3 separate regions of the Homo sapiens genome follow, and regions 1 and 3 are each linked to region 2. Evidence: promoter capture Hi-C in 16 types of primary human blood cells and fetal thymus (Javierre and others, 2016). All regions are on one chromosome and are shown on one strand. Each heading gives the region's core, a stretch centred on a gene start or on the middle of the fragment in contact. The rest is flanking DNA. Distances are from core to core; before and after follow the strand shown. Region 1 holds the start of ATIC (5-aminoimidazole-4-carboxamide ribonucleotide formyltransferase/IMP cyclohydrolase). Region 2 holds the start of KANSL1L (KAT8 regulatory NSL complex subunit 1 like). Region 3 holds the start of SMARCAL1 (SNF2 related chromatin remodeling annealing helicase 1).

Evidence for each region. The method cuts DNA at HindIII sites, captures the fragments that hold promoters and counts their contacts. A CHiCAGO score of 5 or more calls a contact.
Region 1: the fragment with the promoter of ATIC here is called in contact with the fragment with the promoter of KANSL1L in region 2 in 1 of 17 cell types (activated CD4 T cells); the score reaches 8.8 in activated CD4 T cells.
Region 3: the fragment with the promoter of SMARCAL1 here is called in contact with the fragment with the promoter of KANSL1L in region 2 in 1 of 17 cell types (neutrophils); the score reaches 5.2 in neutrophils.

The regions. Positions count from the first base shown.
Region 1 is chr2:215,309,502-215,314,028 of GRCh38, forward strand. It overlaps ATIC (5-aminoimidazole-4-carboxamide ribonucleotide formyltransferase/IMP cyclohydrolase), which reads left to right and starts at 2,558. Exons shown (of 16, transcript NM_004044.7): 1 at 2,558-2,660; 2 at 2,997-3,123. The coding sequence starts at 2,642. It overlaps LOC124907975 (a long non-coding RNA gene), which reads right to left and starts at 2,471. Exons shown (of 2, transcript XR_007088075.1): 1 at 1,178-2,471. RefSeq lists an enhancer at 2,262-2,912 and silencers at 2,443-2,522, 2,533-2,902. The HindIII fragment of the contact is 8,450 bases long and covers 1-4,527 here.
Region 2 is chr2:210,169,481-210,173,983 of GRCh38, forward strand. It overlaps KANSL1L (KAT8 regulatory NSL complex subunit 1 like), which reads right to left and starts at 1,929. Exons shown (of 15, transcript NM_152519.4): 1 at 1,669-1,929. RefSeq lists enhancers at 954-1,588, 1,016-1,195, 1,589-2,224, 2,225-2,858 and silencers at 1,386-1,695, 1,816-2,145. The HindIII fragment of the contact is 7,802 bases long and covers 1-3,727 here.
Region 3 is chr2:216,410,003-216,414,216 of GRCh38, forward strand. SMARCAL1 (SNF2 related chromatin remodeling annealing helicase 1) reads left to right here and starts at 2,482. Exons shown (of 18, transcript NM_014140.4): 1 at 2,482-2,646; 2 at 3,854-3,890. SMARCAL1-AS1 (SMARCAL1 antisense RNA 1) reads right to left here and starts at 2,498. Exons shown (of 5, transcript XR_001739881.1): 1 at 2,423-2,498. RefSeq lists enhancers at 2,244-2,538, 2,282-2,371, 2,502-2,591. The HindIII fragment of the contact is 8,553 bases long and covers 1-4,214 here.

The DNA of each region.
Region 1 (4,527 bases), core at 1,308-3,807, 5.1 Mb after region 2:
TTTTAGTACAGACAGGGTTTCACTGTGTTAGCCAGGATGGTCATGATCTCCTGACCTCGTGATCCGCCCGCCTCCACCTCCCAAAGTGCTGGGATTACAAGTGTGAGCCACCGCACCCGGCCTCTATTAATATTTTTTAGTTATACTTCATGTGTCTACATTTTCATTCCATCATGAGCTCCTTGAGGACAGTGCTTAGGTGATATTTATCTGTCTTCTGACACTGAGTTTCTGCCATCCAAGCAGAAAAGGCTCAATAAAAATGTATTGAATCGAATAAATATTTGTAATTCACATGACAGACAAATGCATAATGCCGAAGCAACTGTTTATTTCCCCTTATCAATAAATGTCAGCATTGTTTTCTCCTTTCCTTGCTTTCGATTTCCTGTAAAAACCTGATGGTGACTGGCCAAGGAAATATCCTTTTTAAATTCAAATTTGGCAAACACACTGAAGACATGCGATAATCTTAATATATTCCTCGTAGGAATGTGAGAAGTGTTCAGAGCAAAGGGCTAACATATTTAGAGGTCAAAAAATTGATTCCAGGCTGGACGCGGTGGCTCACGCCTGCAATCCCAGCCCTTTGGGAGGCCAAGGCAGGTGGATCACCTGAGGTCAGGAGTTCGAGACCAGCGTGGCCAACATGGCGAAACCCCATCTCTACTAAAAATACAAAAATTAGCCAGGCATGGTGGCACGCGCCTGTAGTGCCAGATACTCGGGAGGCTGAGGCAGGAGAATCGCTTGAACCTGGGAGGCAGAGGTTGCAGTGAGCCGAGATCGCGCTACTGCACTCCAGTGTGGGTGACAGAGCGAGAGTGTGGGTGACAGAGCGAGACTCTGTCTCAAAAAAAAAAAAAAAAATTGATTCTAGTCAATAGGTATTTATTTTGGGGAGTAAAGAGATGGGAAGAATTAGAGAAAGGAAGAGGAAAAACAAAAATAAATAGCATGCAGATAATGAGAAAATAGACTCATTTTTACAGCTGTGAGCTCAGACTAAAAGATAAACAATGCTATTACTTTGGAATATAATTCTAATAACACAAAAAAGACTCATAGACCACAATATGTATTTATTTTGTGGCAAAGGTGTCATTTTTAGAAAGAAACAAATGTGTTCAATTTTGCTTTCCCTGTTTTTAATGAATTAAGAAAGGTCTTCTCTTACCTTCTTTTGACTGTCATCATTCCTCTCATCCAGGAATATTTACAGGTTTGCAAGAAGACACCATCTTTAAGTAGTTTTTAGGCACTTTTACAATACTGACTAAATTGTATAAAATAGTATTATAAATTAATATTTAAATTATAATTTTATGACGTGAAAATCAACAACGAATGTCAATTTCACTTCGTTTTGACTGTCATCTGTGGCCTCTGGAGTCCCTCACTTAAATCATTGGTCCTTGGTTTTATTTTTTAAGCCTATTAAAAAGGAGGATGGGGCCGGGCACGGTGGCTCACACCTGTAATCCCAGCACTTTGGGAGGCTGAGGTGGACAGATCATTTGAGGTCAGGAGTTGAAGACCGGCCTGGCCAACACCGTGAAACCCCATCTCTACTAAATATACAAAAAAAAAAAAAAAAAAGTACAACAACAACAAAAAATTAGACGGGTGTGGAGGCAGAGGCAGGAGAATTTCTTGAACCTGGGAGGCAGAGGTTGCAGTGAGCTGAGATGGTGCCACTGCTCTCCAGTCTGGGAGACAGAGCGAGACCCTGTCTCAAAACAAACAAGCAAACAAGCAAGCAAGCAAACAAACAAAAAACAAGTTGGGCATGGTGGCTCACCCCTGTAATCCCAGCACTTTGGGAAGCCGAGGCAGGCGGATCACCTGAGGTCAGGAGTTTGAGACCAGCTTGGCCAACATGGCGAAACCCCATGTCTACTAAAAATACAAAAATTAGCCGGGCATCGTGGCGCCTGCCTATAATTCCAGCTACTCGGGAGGCTGAGGCAGGATAAACTCTTGAACCCGGGATGTGGAGGTTGCAGGTTGCACGTGACATAGCCGAGATCGCGCCATTGCACTCCAGCCTGGGCAACAAAAGCGAAACTCCATCTCAAAAAAAAAAAAAAAAAACAAAAAAAACAAAAAAACCCAGAAAAACAAAAAAACAACAAACAAAAAGGGAGGATGGTAGATAACTGTCCAGATACTTTCCAGCTTTGCCGCTATATGAACTATTCCTTTTGTTTAGTTTTCAGCATGGGAGCTTCTGGCACTTTTACGTACTTTCCAGCTTCTGGGGACCGGCTGCCTAGAATAACAGGCATTTGCCCCAGAGGCCGTGGAGTGGCCTCACTTTGGGGTCGTGGGCAGATCGCTGGCTCCCACGCCTGGACTTCGGGATCGCAGGCAGGATCCCTTCCAGCCCAAGCACTCCGCCCAGGCGCGCCAGGCAGAGCCCCACCCCATCCCGCCGTTCCCTTCAGCCCCGGGGCGCGGATCTTGCATCTGAAACTGAGCAGAGCAGGGCGCCGGGCAGGGCCGGCGGGCCACGTGATAAGCCCGGAAACAGCTCCGCCCCCTCGCTTCCTGAGCCGCCACATCCCGGCAGCCCTCCTACCTGCGCACGTGGTGCCGCCGCTGCTGCCTCCCGCTCGCCCTGAACCCAGTGCCTGCAGCCATGGCTCCCGGCCAGCTCGGTGAGGCCCTAGCGGAGCGGCGCGGTCTGCGTCCTCGCCTGCGGCCCCCCACGCTCCCGCCTTGGCGGCGGCCGGCGGGACCCGGCACTGCAGGGGCGGCGCTGCGGGATTGAAAGCCAGCGTCCCCGCTCCCCGGCCGGGCCGCAGCCTGCGTGGGGCCCGCCTTAGAGCAGCTCGCGGGTGTAAGACCTGGGGAGGCCCGGACCAGGCCTGCGAACGCAGGGTCCAGGTGCTGGCCTTGCGATTCGAGAATCTCCTCCCCCAGACCCTCCCAAGGCCTTGCAGAACACAGTGCAATGTGCTGCGAATCATGAGAAAAAATGTCTTCTCTTTCAGCCTTATTTAGTGTCTCTGACAAAACCGGCCTTGTGGAATTTGCAAGAAACCTGACCGCTCTTGGTTTGAATCTGGTCGCTTCCGGAGGGACTGCAAAAGCTCTCAGGGATGCTGGTCTGGCAGTCAGGTAAGGCATAGCTAGTTCCATCAGAAAGGAGTGTGATCACATTAACCAGGAAGTATTGTATTCCAGGCACCAGCAGCAAAACGCCTTATTTACTCCTCCCAGTAGCGCTGTGAGGTTGGTGTAATACTTCCCCACTTTATGGGGAAAAAAAGTGAGGCTCAGAGAGATTTAGCAACTTTTAAGACCCTGGACGGCTGGGCTAGGTGGCTCACGCATGTAATCCCAGCACTTTGGGAGGCCGAGGTGGGCTGATCACTTACGGTCAAGAGTTCGAGACCAGCCTGGCCAACATGGTGAAACCCGTCTCTACTAAAAATACAAAAATTAGCCGGTATGGTGGCACACGCCTGTAATCCCAGCTACTGGGAAGGCTGAGGCAGGAGAATCGCTTGAACCTAGGAGGCGGAGGTTGTGGTGAGCCGAGATGGCACTACTGCACTCCATCCTGGGTGACAGAGAAAGACCCTGGACAACACACTGGACAGATTTAGCATCTTCTGCACAAGTTTAAACAGTTGAGTAAGGGAAAAGTAGGATTGGAACCCGTGCTGTTCCTGATTTTAGGACACTAGTCTTAGCCCCTTCCTTAAACAGATTAACTTAGGTGGGCCACTTGTTATGCAAGGAAAACTTCAGTTACTTTGACTGGTGATTTAATAAAACTCGACATCATGAAGATTCCAATTTACCTGCCTTCCCTTAGAATCTCTGGTAACCATATGAAGGTGCAAATCATTCATTCCCACGTTCACAAGCCCTTCATTAGCTGACTAGGCCATGGAAAGAAGGGACTTAGAAATGATTAACCAGGATGCCATTGCTGATGTCAAGGAGTGGCATTCTGGGAGGAGAGGGAGGAAGTCTACTGAAAGGTAGAAAAATGAAAAAAACTATAGGATAGCTATTTAATAAACGGCAGTGAGAGTTGGGAGGAACGAGATGACCACCCCTGAAACATATTTTAGAATGAAAGAGATGAAGGATATCTGTCTGCTTTTTGTTGCCATGTGGAAAATTTGCTTCTTGGTTTCTAGATCCATGTAGAGGTAGGTTATTACCTTTTCTTTGTGCAGTTCCCAGCTATGTGAGCAGTACACAGCTTCCCTAAGTTTAACAAGTTCAGATGGTAAGAATGCCTTACTTTATTAACAAATACATAACTGTATATTTTCGGATGTCTTTTTGCGTCTTGTCTCTGTGGTTTTCATGGGAAACCTGTGAGAATCGTGGCAGGCAAGTTGGCTCTTTGCTCATCAGCAACCGAATGAGAATTCAAAGTCCAGACCTGCGTGCTTTCCATTGGGCCAAGTTGGGTCCTCCTATGGTAATGGAACCTTCGTAAAGCAAAATCCTCATCTGTAGTCTCTTTTTTTTCCCCACCAAACTTTGTATTATGGAAACATT
Region 2 (4,503 bases), core at 679-3,178:
TTATAGTTTTCTTATTTGCACTCATCTATTTTCCAATTACTTTATAATAATAAGATTTAACAAAATAATCGATTGTTATTTGCAAAGGCGCATCATGAAACAAAATTAAAATGTAAATGTTAAAAGTCAATGTGAGAGAATTGGCCTGGATTAAGAAGTTTCACATAAAAAATTACTCCAGACAGTTTGCGGGAGAGAATAATCTATGTAGATTAAAACCATGAGGAAATGGTTGCAGACGCTGACACTGATCTAAGTAGGTGGAAACTGAGGGAGAACCAAAGATAATGGTTACAACAGATTTTAAAGATACTCAAATATATTCTATTTCATGATTAATTCATTGTTTATATTTCCCCAACATGTGGGCTTTTAAAAAATTCACTTTTGTTATAAAAATAACACTACTTGGCAATTGGTAGAGATTAGGAATCACTTTTCCTAATACAAGGCATTTCTTCTTTCTTACAATCTCTTAAGACAGAGACCATATTATGAAACTTTACAAAAACGAAACAAGTTTGACATCAGAGAGGTGACTAACCCAAAGAAATGGCTAGTTATTAAGAACGGGAAAGGCAGAGACCACTCACTGTTAAGCCTCTTTCTCAATACTGAATTATTTTTAGAGTCATTTTTTCCTAGTCAGAAATTGCCAGTTTTGTCTGCAGTGCTCACTTCACTTAGGTTTTGTGGCTAACAAACCTGCCCCATCCAGCAATATTTAAAATTATTACTGACCCAAACTCAGATGAAGTTAAGCAAACTGGCTAAAGACGAAGGAAGTTTGTCTCCTAAACCTCGCCAGAACATGAATGTCCTGAAGTTTGGGGAATCAAAAACGGAATGTGCTTACCACAGTTCAAACAAAAAAACAAACAAAAACGGACTCTCCCAGAGTAAGAAAACATTACAAGAACGTCCATCCAGTGCCTGCCCTCCCGACTGCAAAGCCAGCCTCTTTCCTTTCCTGTGGTTTCTGAAACGGCCAGGATACCGCCTGGTATTTCTTGCTACCAAACACCACGCAATCTGACTTTTTCCAGCAAGACCGGTCCCTTCCTCAGCACACCGGTGACACAAACTTGGAAGCACCGTCCCTCAAAAATCCCCTAGATTCTGCTCTATCCCATCTAACTCTAAAGCCCAAATCTACGTTTTCCTGAAAGAAAGTGTGAAATAAATAAAATAGGGGTCTCATCAAATCCAGTGGGCTCCGCCTCAGAGCCGCCTCAAAAGAGCCGTCACCACACCCCCAATGGGTGAGGCTCAGCCGATGAGGCAAGAGGCGGGTCCAGGAAACCACGTGTTCTGCCTTCTGCGCACGCGCCAGCCAAAACAAAAGGGAGGTCTGCCAAGCCCCACCCCCCACGTGACCGGCGTCCAGGTCCGCCCCCACCCCTCCCTAGACCCCTTCCCTCCCCAGCTGCCAAGGCTGTTAGGTTTAGCCGTTTAAATTTGGCTGCGGTCAGACCCCCGCCCTAGAGCGCGATCCCGTGCCGAGACCAGAGTCCAGCAGCCCAGAGGATTCGGGGGGCGAAGGGGCTGCCGGTCGGTCGCCTGACCCGCAAGTCCACCCGGCAGTCTTCTCCCCTCCCCGCGCTGCCGCCGTCCCCAAGAGGGAAGACCCACCCCCGTCATCCCGCCGCTGAGACGCCGGCCACTCGCCTGCTGGGGCGCCCTGGCTCCCCTCCGCCGCCGCACCTTCGGTCCGGCCGTGGTGGGGGCTGCTGAGGTGATCTCTAGCTGCCCGCCCGCCTCCCCCACCCGGGGCGCCGCTGACTCGTCTCCAGAGCGCGCCCCGCTCCCGCCCCGGCCGCCGCCGCCGCCGCCGCCGCCGCCGCCGCCGCCGCCGCCGCCGCGGTTTAACAGTCCGCCCGCTGCCCGCAGCTCCGTGCGGCTCGGGGGGACGGAACCCTGCCGCGGTCTGGGAGCAGTGGGCGGGGCCCGGCGCTAGCCAATGGCAACGGGGGAGGGGCAGCGCCATGCAAATGAAGCGGGTGGCGGGGAAACCCCGGCAGGGGGCGGGGCCTGCAGAAGCGGCTCGGAGTGTTCTGGAAGTGGCAGGAGCACGACTCCCTTAACTCTGGTGCAGGGTTTACCTCGGCTCCCTCGGGACGGGTTCCGTGCAGCTCCTGCTTCCTCCCTTCTCTTTCCCAGTGCCATCCCTGGCGAGGGGGAAAAAAAAAAACACGGCCAGGAGACTTCCCACCCCTGCTTTGCTATTTTTGTACCTCCGTGACAGAAAAACAAAACCCTGAGGAAAAGTCAGGCGACTTCATTCCCTGCCGTCCGCGCCGGGGCCTCGACTACTGCTGGCGTCCGCGGCTTTCGCCCGCCGCTCCACAGGCGAGTTTTAAGAGATTTCTCACAATTGTCAAGTCCGCAAGTCTCCGTGCGTTTGCTTTTATTTGGGCCGTGCGTTCAAATGCGCTCATAATTCTTTCTGACCCTCAGAGGGGCCCTGAAGTAGGTGACAAATTTGCCTTGGATCCAACTGGGTGGTTTTATGATTAAAAAAAAAAAAACAGACAAAGCAGTTTTAAGTCTCTACAAATCTGGTTTGAGTGGCGCTGGACCTAACTCCCCTCTGCAGTAACGCTGTCAAATAAACAAACGGAGTTTATGTGGAGATAGTTGGCCAGCGACACCCAAAAACACTTCTGAGCGTCTTGCACCTGGCCCCGCGAACCGCTCACCACAAAACAAACCTGCACCTGGGCACTTCCCCAGCCAAGAACTCGATTTTTTTAAAACTGAACTCTAAATGTAGCTTCTTAGATGTTGTATCACAGTCTTTCCTAAGCACCGAATTTACACATGAAATGATTTAAGGAACGAAGAGCACTAGGCTTTTTAAGCCAGAAGGATAATAGCCATTATTTTAACCTTATCAATTGGATAAGATCCCGGGGGCGGAAGAGGGGAGAAATCCAAGGAATTGCAGTCATAACAAAGCGTAATCCGTAACATAGATAACTGGAATTGGAAAATTAGCTACTCGTTCCTGGTTCTTCTAGTAGATTGTGATATTACTGAAATAATTTTTATGACCAGCTGCATTTATTGGAGCTATATTTTTTTAATTACTGAATAATTGCACCTCGATATGGGGCAAGGGAAGAATTTTAGGAAATTGATTTACTTTCATTGTAATAAAAATTGTAAGCTAATGATGTGTTGTGAAAAATAATTAAATCAGTAAGTATTTATTGGATATTTACCATATTCAAAGGACTGTCCTAGTCCCTGGGGACAGAAATGCAAAAATGAATAAAGTATTTTTTAAAGTTTTGTTTTTTTAATTAGCAGTTTGAGACATCTAATAAGCATGTGTTAAGATAGATCAAAGGAAGATTCTGGATTTGAGTTGGACGTTTAAAAGACTTAAGAGAGAGGAGGAAGGCATCAATAGTTCAGGAGATAGTGTCCTTGGGTGGTTTGAGGAGATGTTGTGTGAATATTTGGGGGGCAGAAAAGTACATTGTCAACTAGATTGAGTAAATCTTGAATGACAGGAATTCAGATTTTAACCTGAAGGAACTGTAGAGACATCAAATCATTTAATGGTAGTTTTCTCCTGTGAAATAATTTTTTGCTACCAAACAAAATATTTATATATTTGCCAAATGTTTATTGAACACATGTTTTGTGATGGCTAATGAAGATATATTAGTAAACAAATTCCCTGTCCTCATGGAGTTTATAGAGGATGACAAAGGGATTAAGCTTTGTAACTACACAAATAGTGATTCATACAGCATTTCTACATATATTATGTAATTTGTTCATCACATAGCCGTGGGAGGTAGGCTGTTTCCAATACTCTAGATTAATTTTTTTTTTTTTTTTGAGACGGAGTCTCACACTGTCTCCCAGGCTGGAGTGCAGTGGTGCGATCTCGCCTCACTGCAAGCTCCGCCTCCCGGGTTCATGCCATTCTCCTGCCTCAGCCTCCCGAGTAGCTGGGACTACAGGCGCCCGCCACCAAGACCGGCTAATTTTTTTTTTTTTTTTTTGTATTTTTAGTAGAGACGGAGTTTCACTATGTTAGCCAGGATGGTCTAGATCTCCTGACCTGGTGATCTGCCCGCCTCGGCCTCCCAAAATGCTGGGATTACAGGCGTGAGCCACAACACCCGGCCGCTCCAGATTAATTCTTTTATCTTCTAGTCAGCCCTGCCGCCTGCTAAATGTTACAGACCTTAAATAAATATTTCAATCTATCAAGCTATCATACATGTACATTTTCCCTATTTTATATTCGGTTTAATAGGAATGTGGGGAGATGATTAACAAAATAATACAGGTTTGATATAAAATATATAGGAAAGCACAAAGAAGAAAACCACAATCATATGCAAAGTCTGTTGTATTTTATATGTATGACACTGTGCATACTGGTTTTTTATCCCATTTAGCTACATGTTAAGCACACTATCCCTTGACACTGAATATTGTTCTAAAGCATGATTTTATTATTTGTAGCATATACATGCGAGT
Region 3 (4,214 bases), core at 1,232-3,731, 6.2 Mb after region 2:
ACAGTAAGACCTCAGTAAACGATGCTACTGACAAAGCAAAGATGCAACTATTGAGTGGGGTCTAATTAGTTTACTTTCTGAAGATGATTATTCCCCCCAAATGCATTTTTTTTTGTTGTTGAGATGGAGTTTCACTCTTGTTGCCCAGGCTGAAGTGCAATGGCATGATCTCAGCTCACTGCAACCTCCGCCTCCAGGGTTCAAGCGATTCTCCTGCCTCAGCTTCCTGAGTAGCTGGAATTACAGGCATGCACCACCACGCCCAGCTACTTTTTGTATTAGATGGGGTTTTGTAGAGATGAGGTTTCACCATATTGGCTAGGCTAGTCTCGAACTCCTGACCTCAGGTGATCTGCCTGCTTTGGCCTCCCAAAGTGCTGGGATTATAGACATGAGCCACCACACCCGGCCTCAAAGGCATATTTTAATTTCCTATTCTTAGAATTTTAGAATGTTAGAGCTAGAAAGGTAATCACATCTTCTAACTCAATTCCAGACTTACTGAATTGGAATTTCTGGGGTAAGATCTGTGAATCTATAAGAATTCTAGTATCTAACATGAGGATCCACTGGTCCACAGGCCCTCTTAGCATATGTCAAAGCAGGGTATCATTTTACAGGTGAGACGACTGAGGCCCAGGAAAGCGAAGTGATGGTCATATGAATCGGTGACAGACATGAGTCAAGTGCACGGCACCCAGCTTTCTTAGTAAATTAACTGACTGTTGGGAGACAGGAAGGGCAGGGACAGGTGTTCATTAACTAGTTTCTGTTCACACTATACAGTAGGAAATGAGCGCTAGGTATAGAGAAACGGACGATATAAGAGATTTACCTCAAATAATAACAACATCCCTCTCTTACCTGTTCTGGGATTTCACAGTTCACTAAGCACTTCCCCTCATAATACCTTGCTTTGATTCTAATAACAAGATTTACCAAGGTGGTATTGTTTTCTACATTTACTTTACAGATGAGAAAATGGAGGCACAATCACTGGGTATGTCAGGTCAATAAAAGGGGTAGAGCTGAGATTTGAATACTTTCTACTACTAAACCTCACACAGATCCCCTAAGACAGGCAATGTCTTTGTCATTTAAGACAAATGGGCTGGGCGCAGTGGCTCACACCTGTAATCCCAGCACTTTGGGAGGCTGAGGCAGGTGGATCACTTGAGGTCAGGAGTTTGAGACCAGCCTGGCCAACATGGTAAAACTCTGTCTCTACTAAAATTACTAAAATCAGCCAGGCATGGCGGCATGCACCCATAATCCCAGCTATTTGGGAGGCTGAGGCAGGAGAATCATTTGAACCCAGGAGTCAGAGGCTGAAGTGAGCCAAGATTACACCACCACACTCAGTCTAGGCAACAGAGTGAGACTCTGTCTCAAAAAAAAAAAAAAAAAAAAAAAAAAAAAAAAAAAGGAAGGAAGGAAGAAGGGAGATTATTTATTGTTTCAAAAGTCACACAAATTCTACATTATTATTTTAGAAAATTCAAATCATTCTGAAAAATAGAGATTAAAAAGCTGAAAAGTGTATTTCATGCCACTCTGCTCCTGAACAGTTTGGTGACTTTTTAAGTTTCCTTCCCAGACCTTTATGAGTTTACATACATGTACAGGTAAGGATGAAAAAAAAAAAAATCAAACTACACACATTGCTGTGCTTCCTTTTTCTTAGCATGTCTGGTCCATTTTTTCAAATCCTTTAGTAGACTTGTTTGTTTTTAAATGAGCCATGTTTGAAAATAGAACAATAGCAACATTCATATGCACACTGATAGAGAAATGTTATATTTATCACCAATGGTGCTCAGGATGGCTCAGGATGTTGGTGCTCAGGATGGGGTAAAGTGACTCTTTAAGTCTCATGACTAATCTTCTCTCAAGAGGAGGGGCTATGGAATCAGAATCACAAGCTAGCTTAATAAAGCCTTGAGAAATATTATCAAATAGCTGTCTTAGTTTCCCCCTCTGTAAAAGGGGGACAAGAATGTGTTCCATAGGTTGTAGTGCGGTTAAATGAGGTAACTCATATTTATGCTAAACACAATGACTGATGACTACAATGATGACGATGATGGCAGCCGGGCGCAGCGGGTGGGGCTTAAATGGCAAGTATAGCAATACCAGGAATGGATGCCCCGGGGAGATACTTTTTATTAAGAGCTGCCAAGTTAGTATGGCTGTCTGGGATGTCCTCTGGAGACAGCCGACTCCGGGTTTGGAAACCTCAACGTCCTAGGCTTTCAGGACCTAGTGTTTGGCTAAACCTCTGGAGAACTACAACTTCCAGGGTGCACCACTTTCGCCCCGCCCATGACGTTGCAGCTCCCGTTTCTCGCCAGGCTCCCGGCCCGAACTACAAATCCCAGAAGACACTGCAGCCCCGCTCGCGTTCTCGTCTCATCATTCTTACTTTTGGAAGCGAAACTGCGGCCGCGTTGCCTGCTGGGAAATGTAGTTCAGCGGTGGCCTAGCCCTTCAGGCCTGGCCGCTACAATAAGGCTGGCGAACTCGCAGCGCTTGAATACCCGTGGCCTAACCGTCCACTCGGAAGACCGGTCCCGCTCGGGAGGCTCTGCAGTCGCGCCTGGGGTCAGGGCCGGGGGCGAATGTGGCTCGCGTTCTAGGCCTCCCTGGGTGAGAAAGTGGTAGACTGGCAGGAAGGCGGCGGAGGCGGACGAGACCAATGCCAGCCTGGAGGAGGAAGTGGGCCAATGGGAAGGGTGAATCCAAGTGGAGATCGTAGGGGTGGGAGTGGGGCGTGGCGCCCGCTTACCTTGAGGCTGGGTGAGGCTCGCCCCGAAATGCGGGGCGTGGGGGGCGGGGGGCAGAGGTCCCTGCCTAGAGGGGAAGAGGGGCGTCCATGTGGCGGAATGGATTTATGGTTTGGGGCTGATCAGTGGGTCTTATGGCCGAGTCTCTCTGGTTAGTGGAGACAGCTTACCAGGCCTGGGATCTGGGGAGTTTGGAGGTGCAGGAGATCCCTGGTTGGAAACTTAGGCAGGAGTGTGTTACCCAGAGAGACTGAGGGCTTCTGCTGTGCACCTCCAAAACCTTTTCCTAACCTCTTCACCCCTTCCTAACTGCTAATGGTTGGAGAAGGTGGAAGTTCTCTGGGGATAGATACTTCGTGGTGGGGGAGGGGGGAGGGGGGTTGGGTTCTGGCCAAAGGGAGCCCCAGCAGGGAAGGAAGGCTTTGAACCCTATAGCTGCCCAGAGGCCTAAGCAATGCTACTGGAGTACCCCTACATCATCATTGTAACCGTTACACAGCATTACATTAGATGCAGCCTATTTAGTCTGAACCAAGCCAGACAAATTGGTGTGTCCTGCCCGCTGCTTCTAAAATATTGTAAACATGTCTCAGCTCATAGGAAAATAAATGTTCCGGGTAAATTCATGGAAAAAAATAATCAGGGTGCAATATGGAATGTTTACAATGATCCTACTTTATAATAAATTCTTATATCTCCTAAATATGTGCCATTTTGTTATGGATGAAAAAAAATCCGAACTATATACTCTAAATTATTAATTTCAACTGTGGTTATTGATGGCTGGTAAGATTACAGAGTAATTTTATTCTTTTTTGTTTACATCTTTATGTAGCATCTTAATTTGCACAGTGAACACATAATTTTTTTTTTTCTGCTCCTTATTTTCCCAGGAGAGTCAGTCAGTTGCTCCGTGTGTTGTGTTGGAAGTCAGGTCCTAAGGCCAGCTGCTCTGGCTTGCACTGAGCCACAGGCAGACTGATTTGCCAGGAATGATAAAAAGGGGTGAATGTGAGGGGAGAATTCAGTGTGCAGGCTATGGGAGGCTAATGCTTTTTTCCTTCTTCTAGGTTGGAAAAAGACTATGTTAGCAAGTGTCACGCCATGGTATGTGGTTGGTTGGTCTATTTCAGTCTAATCTATTATGCTTTCTGGTTAAAAATGTCACCTTTCTCATTATCTGATGGATTTACGTTGCAATGCATAACTTTCTTAGGTTCTGATAACTCACCTTGGCTGGGCCATGTGAGTTATCAGAAGAGTTACTCACCATTTTGGCAGTGCTTCGAACCATTGAGTTACCATGTGAGTTACCATGTGAGAAGGAGAGAAATATTGCCTCTGAAATGCCTTTTTAGCTTTGGATTTGCTTTTTGCTTTTTTTTTTTTCTTTGAGAGTTTTGTTCTTGTTGCCCAGGCTGGAGTGCGGTG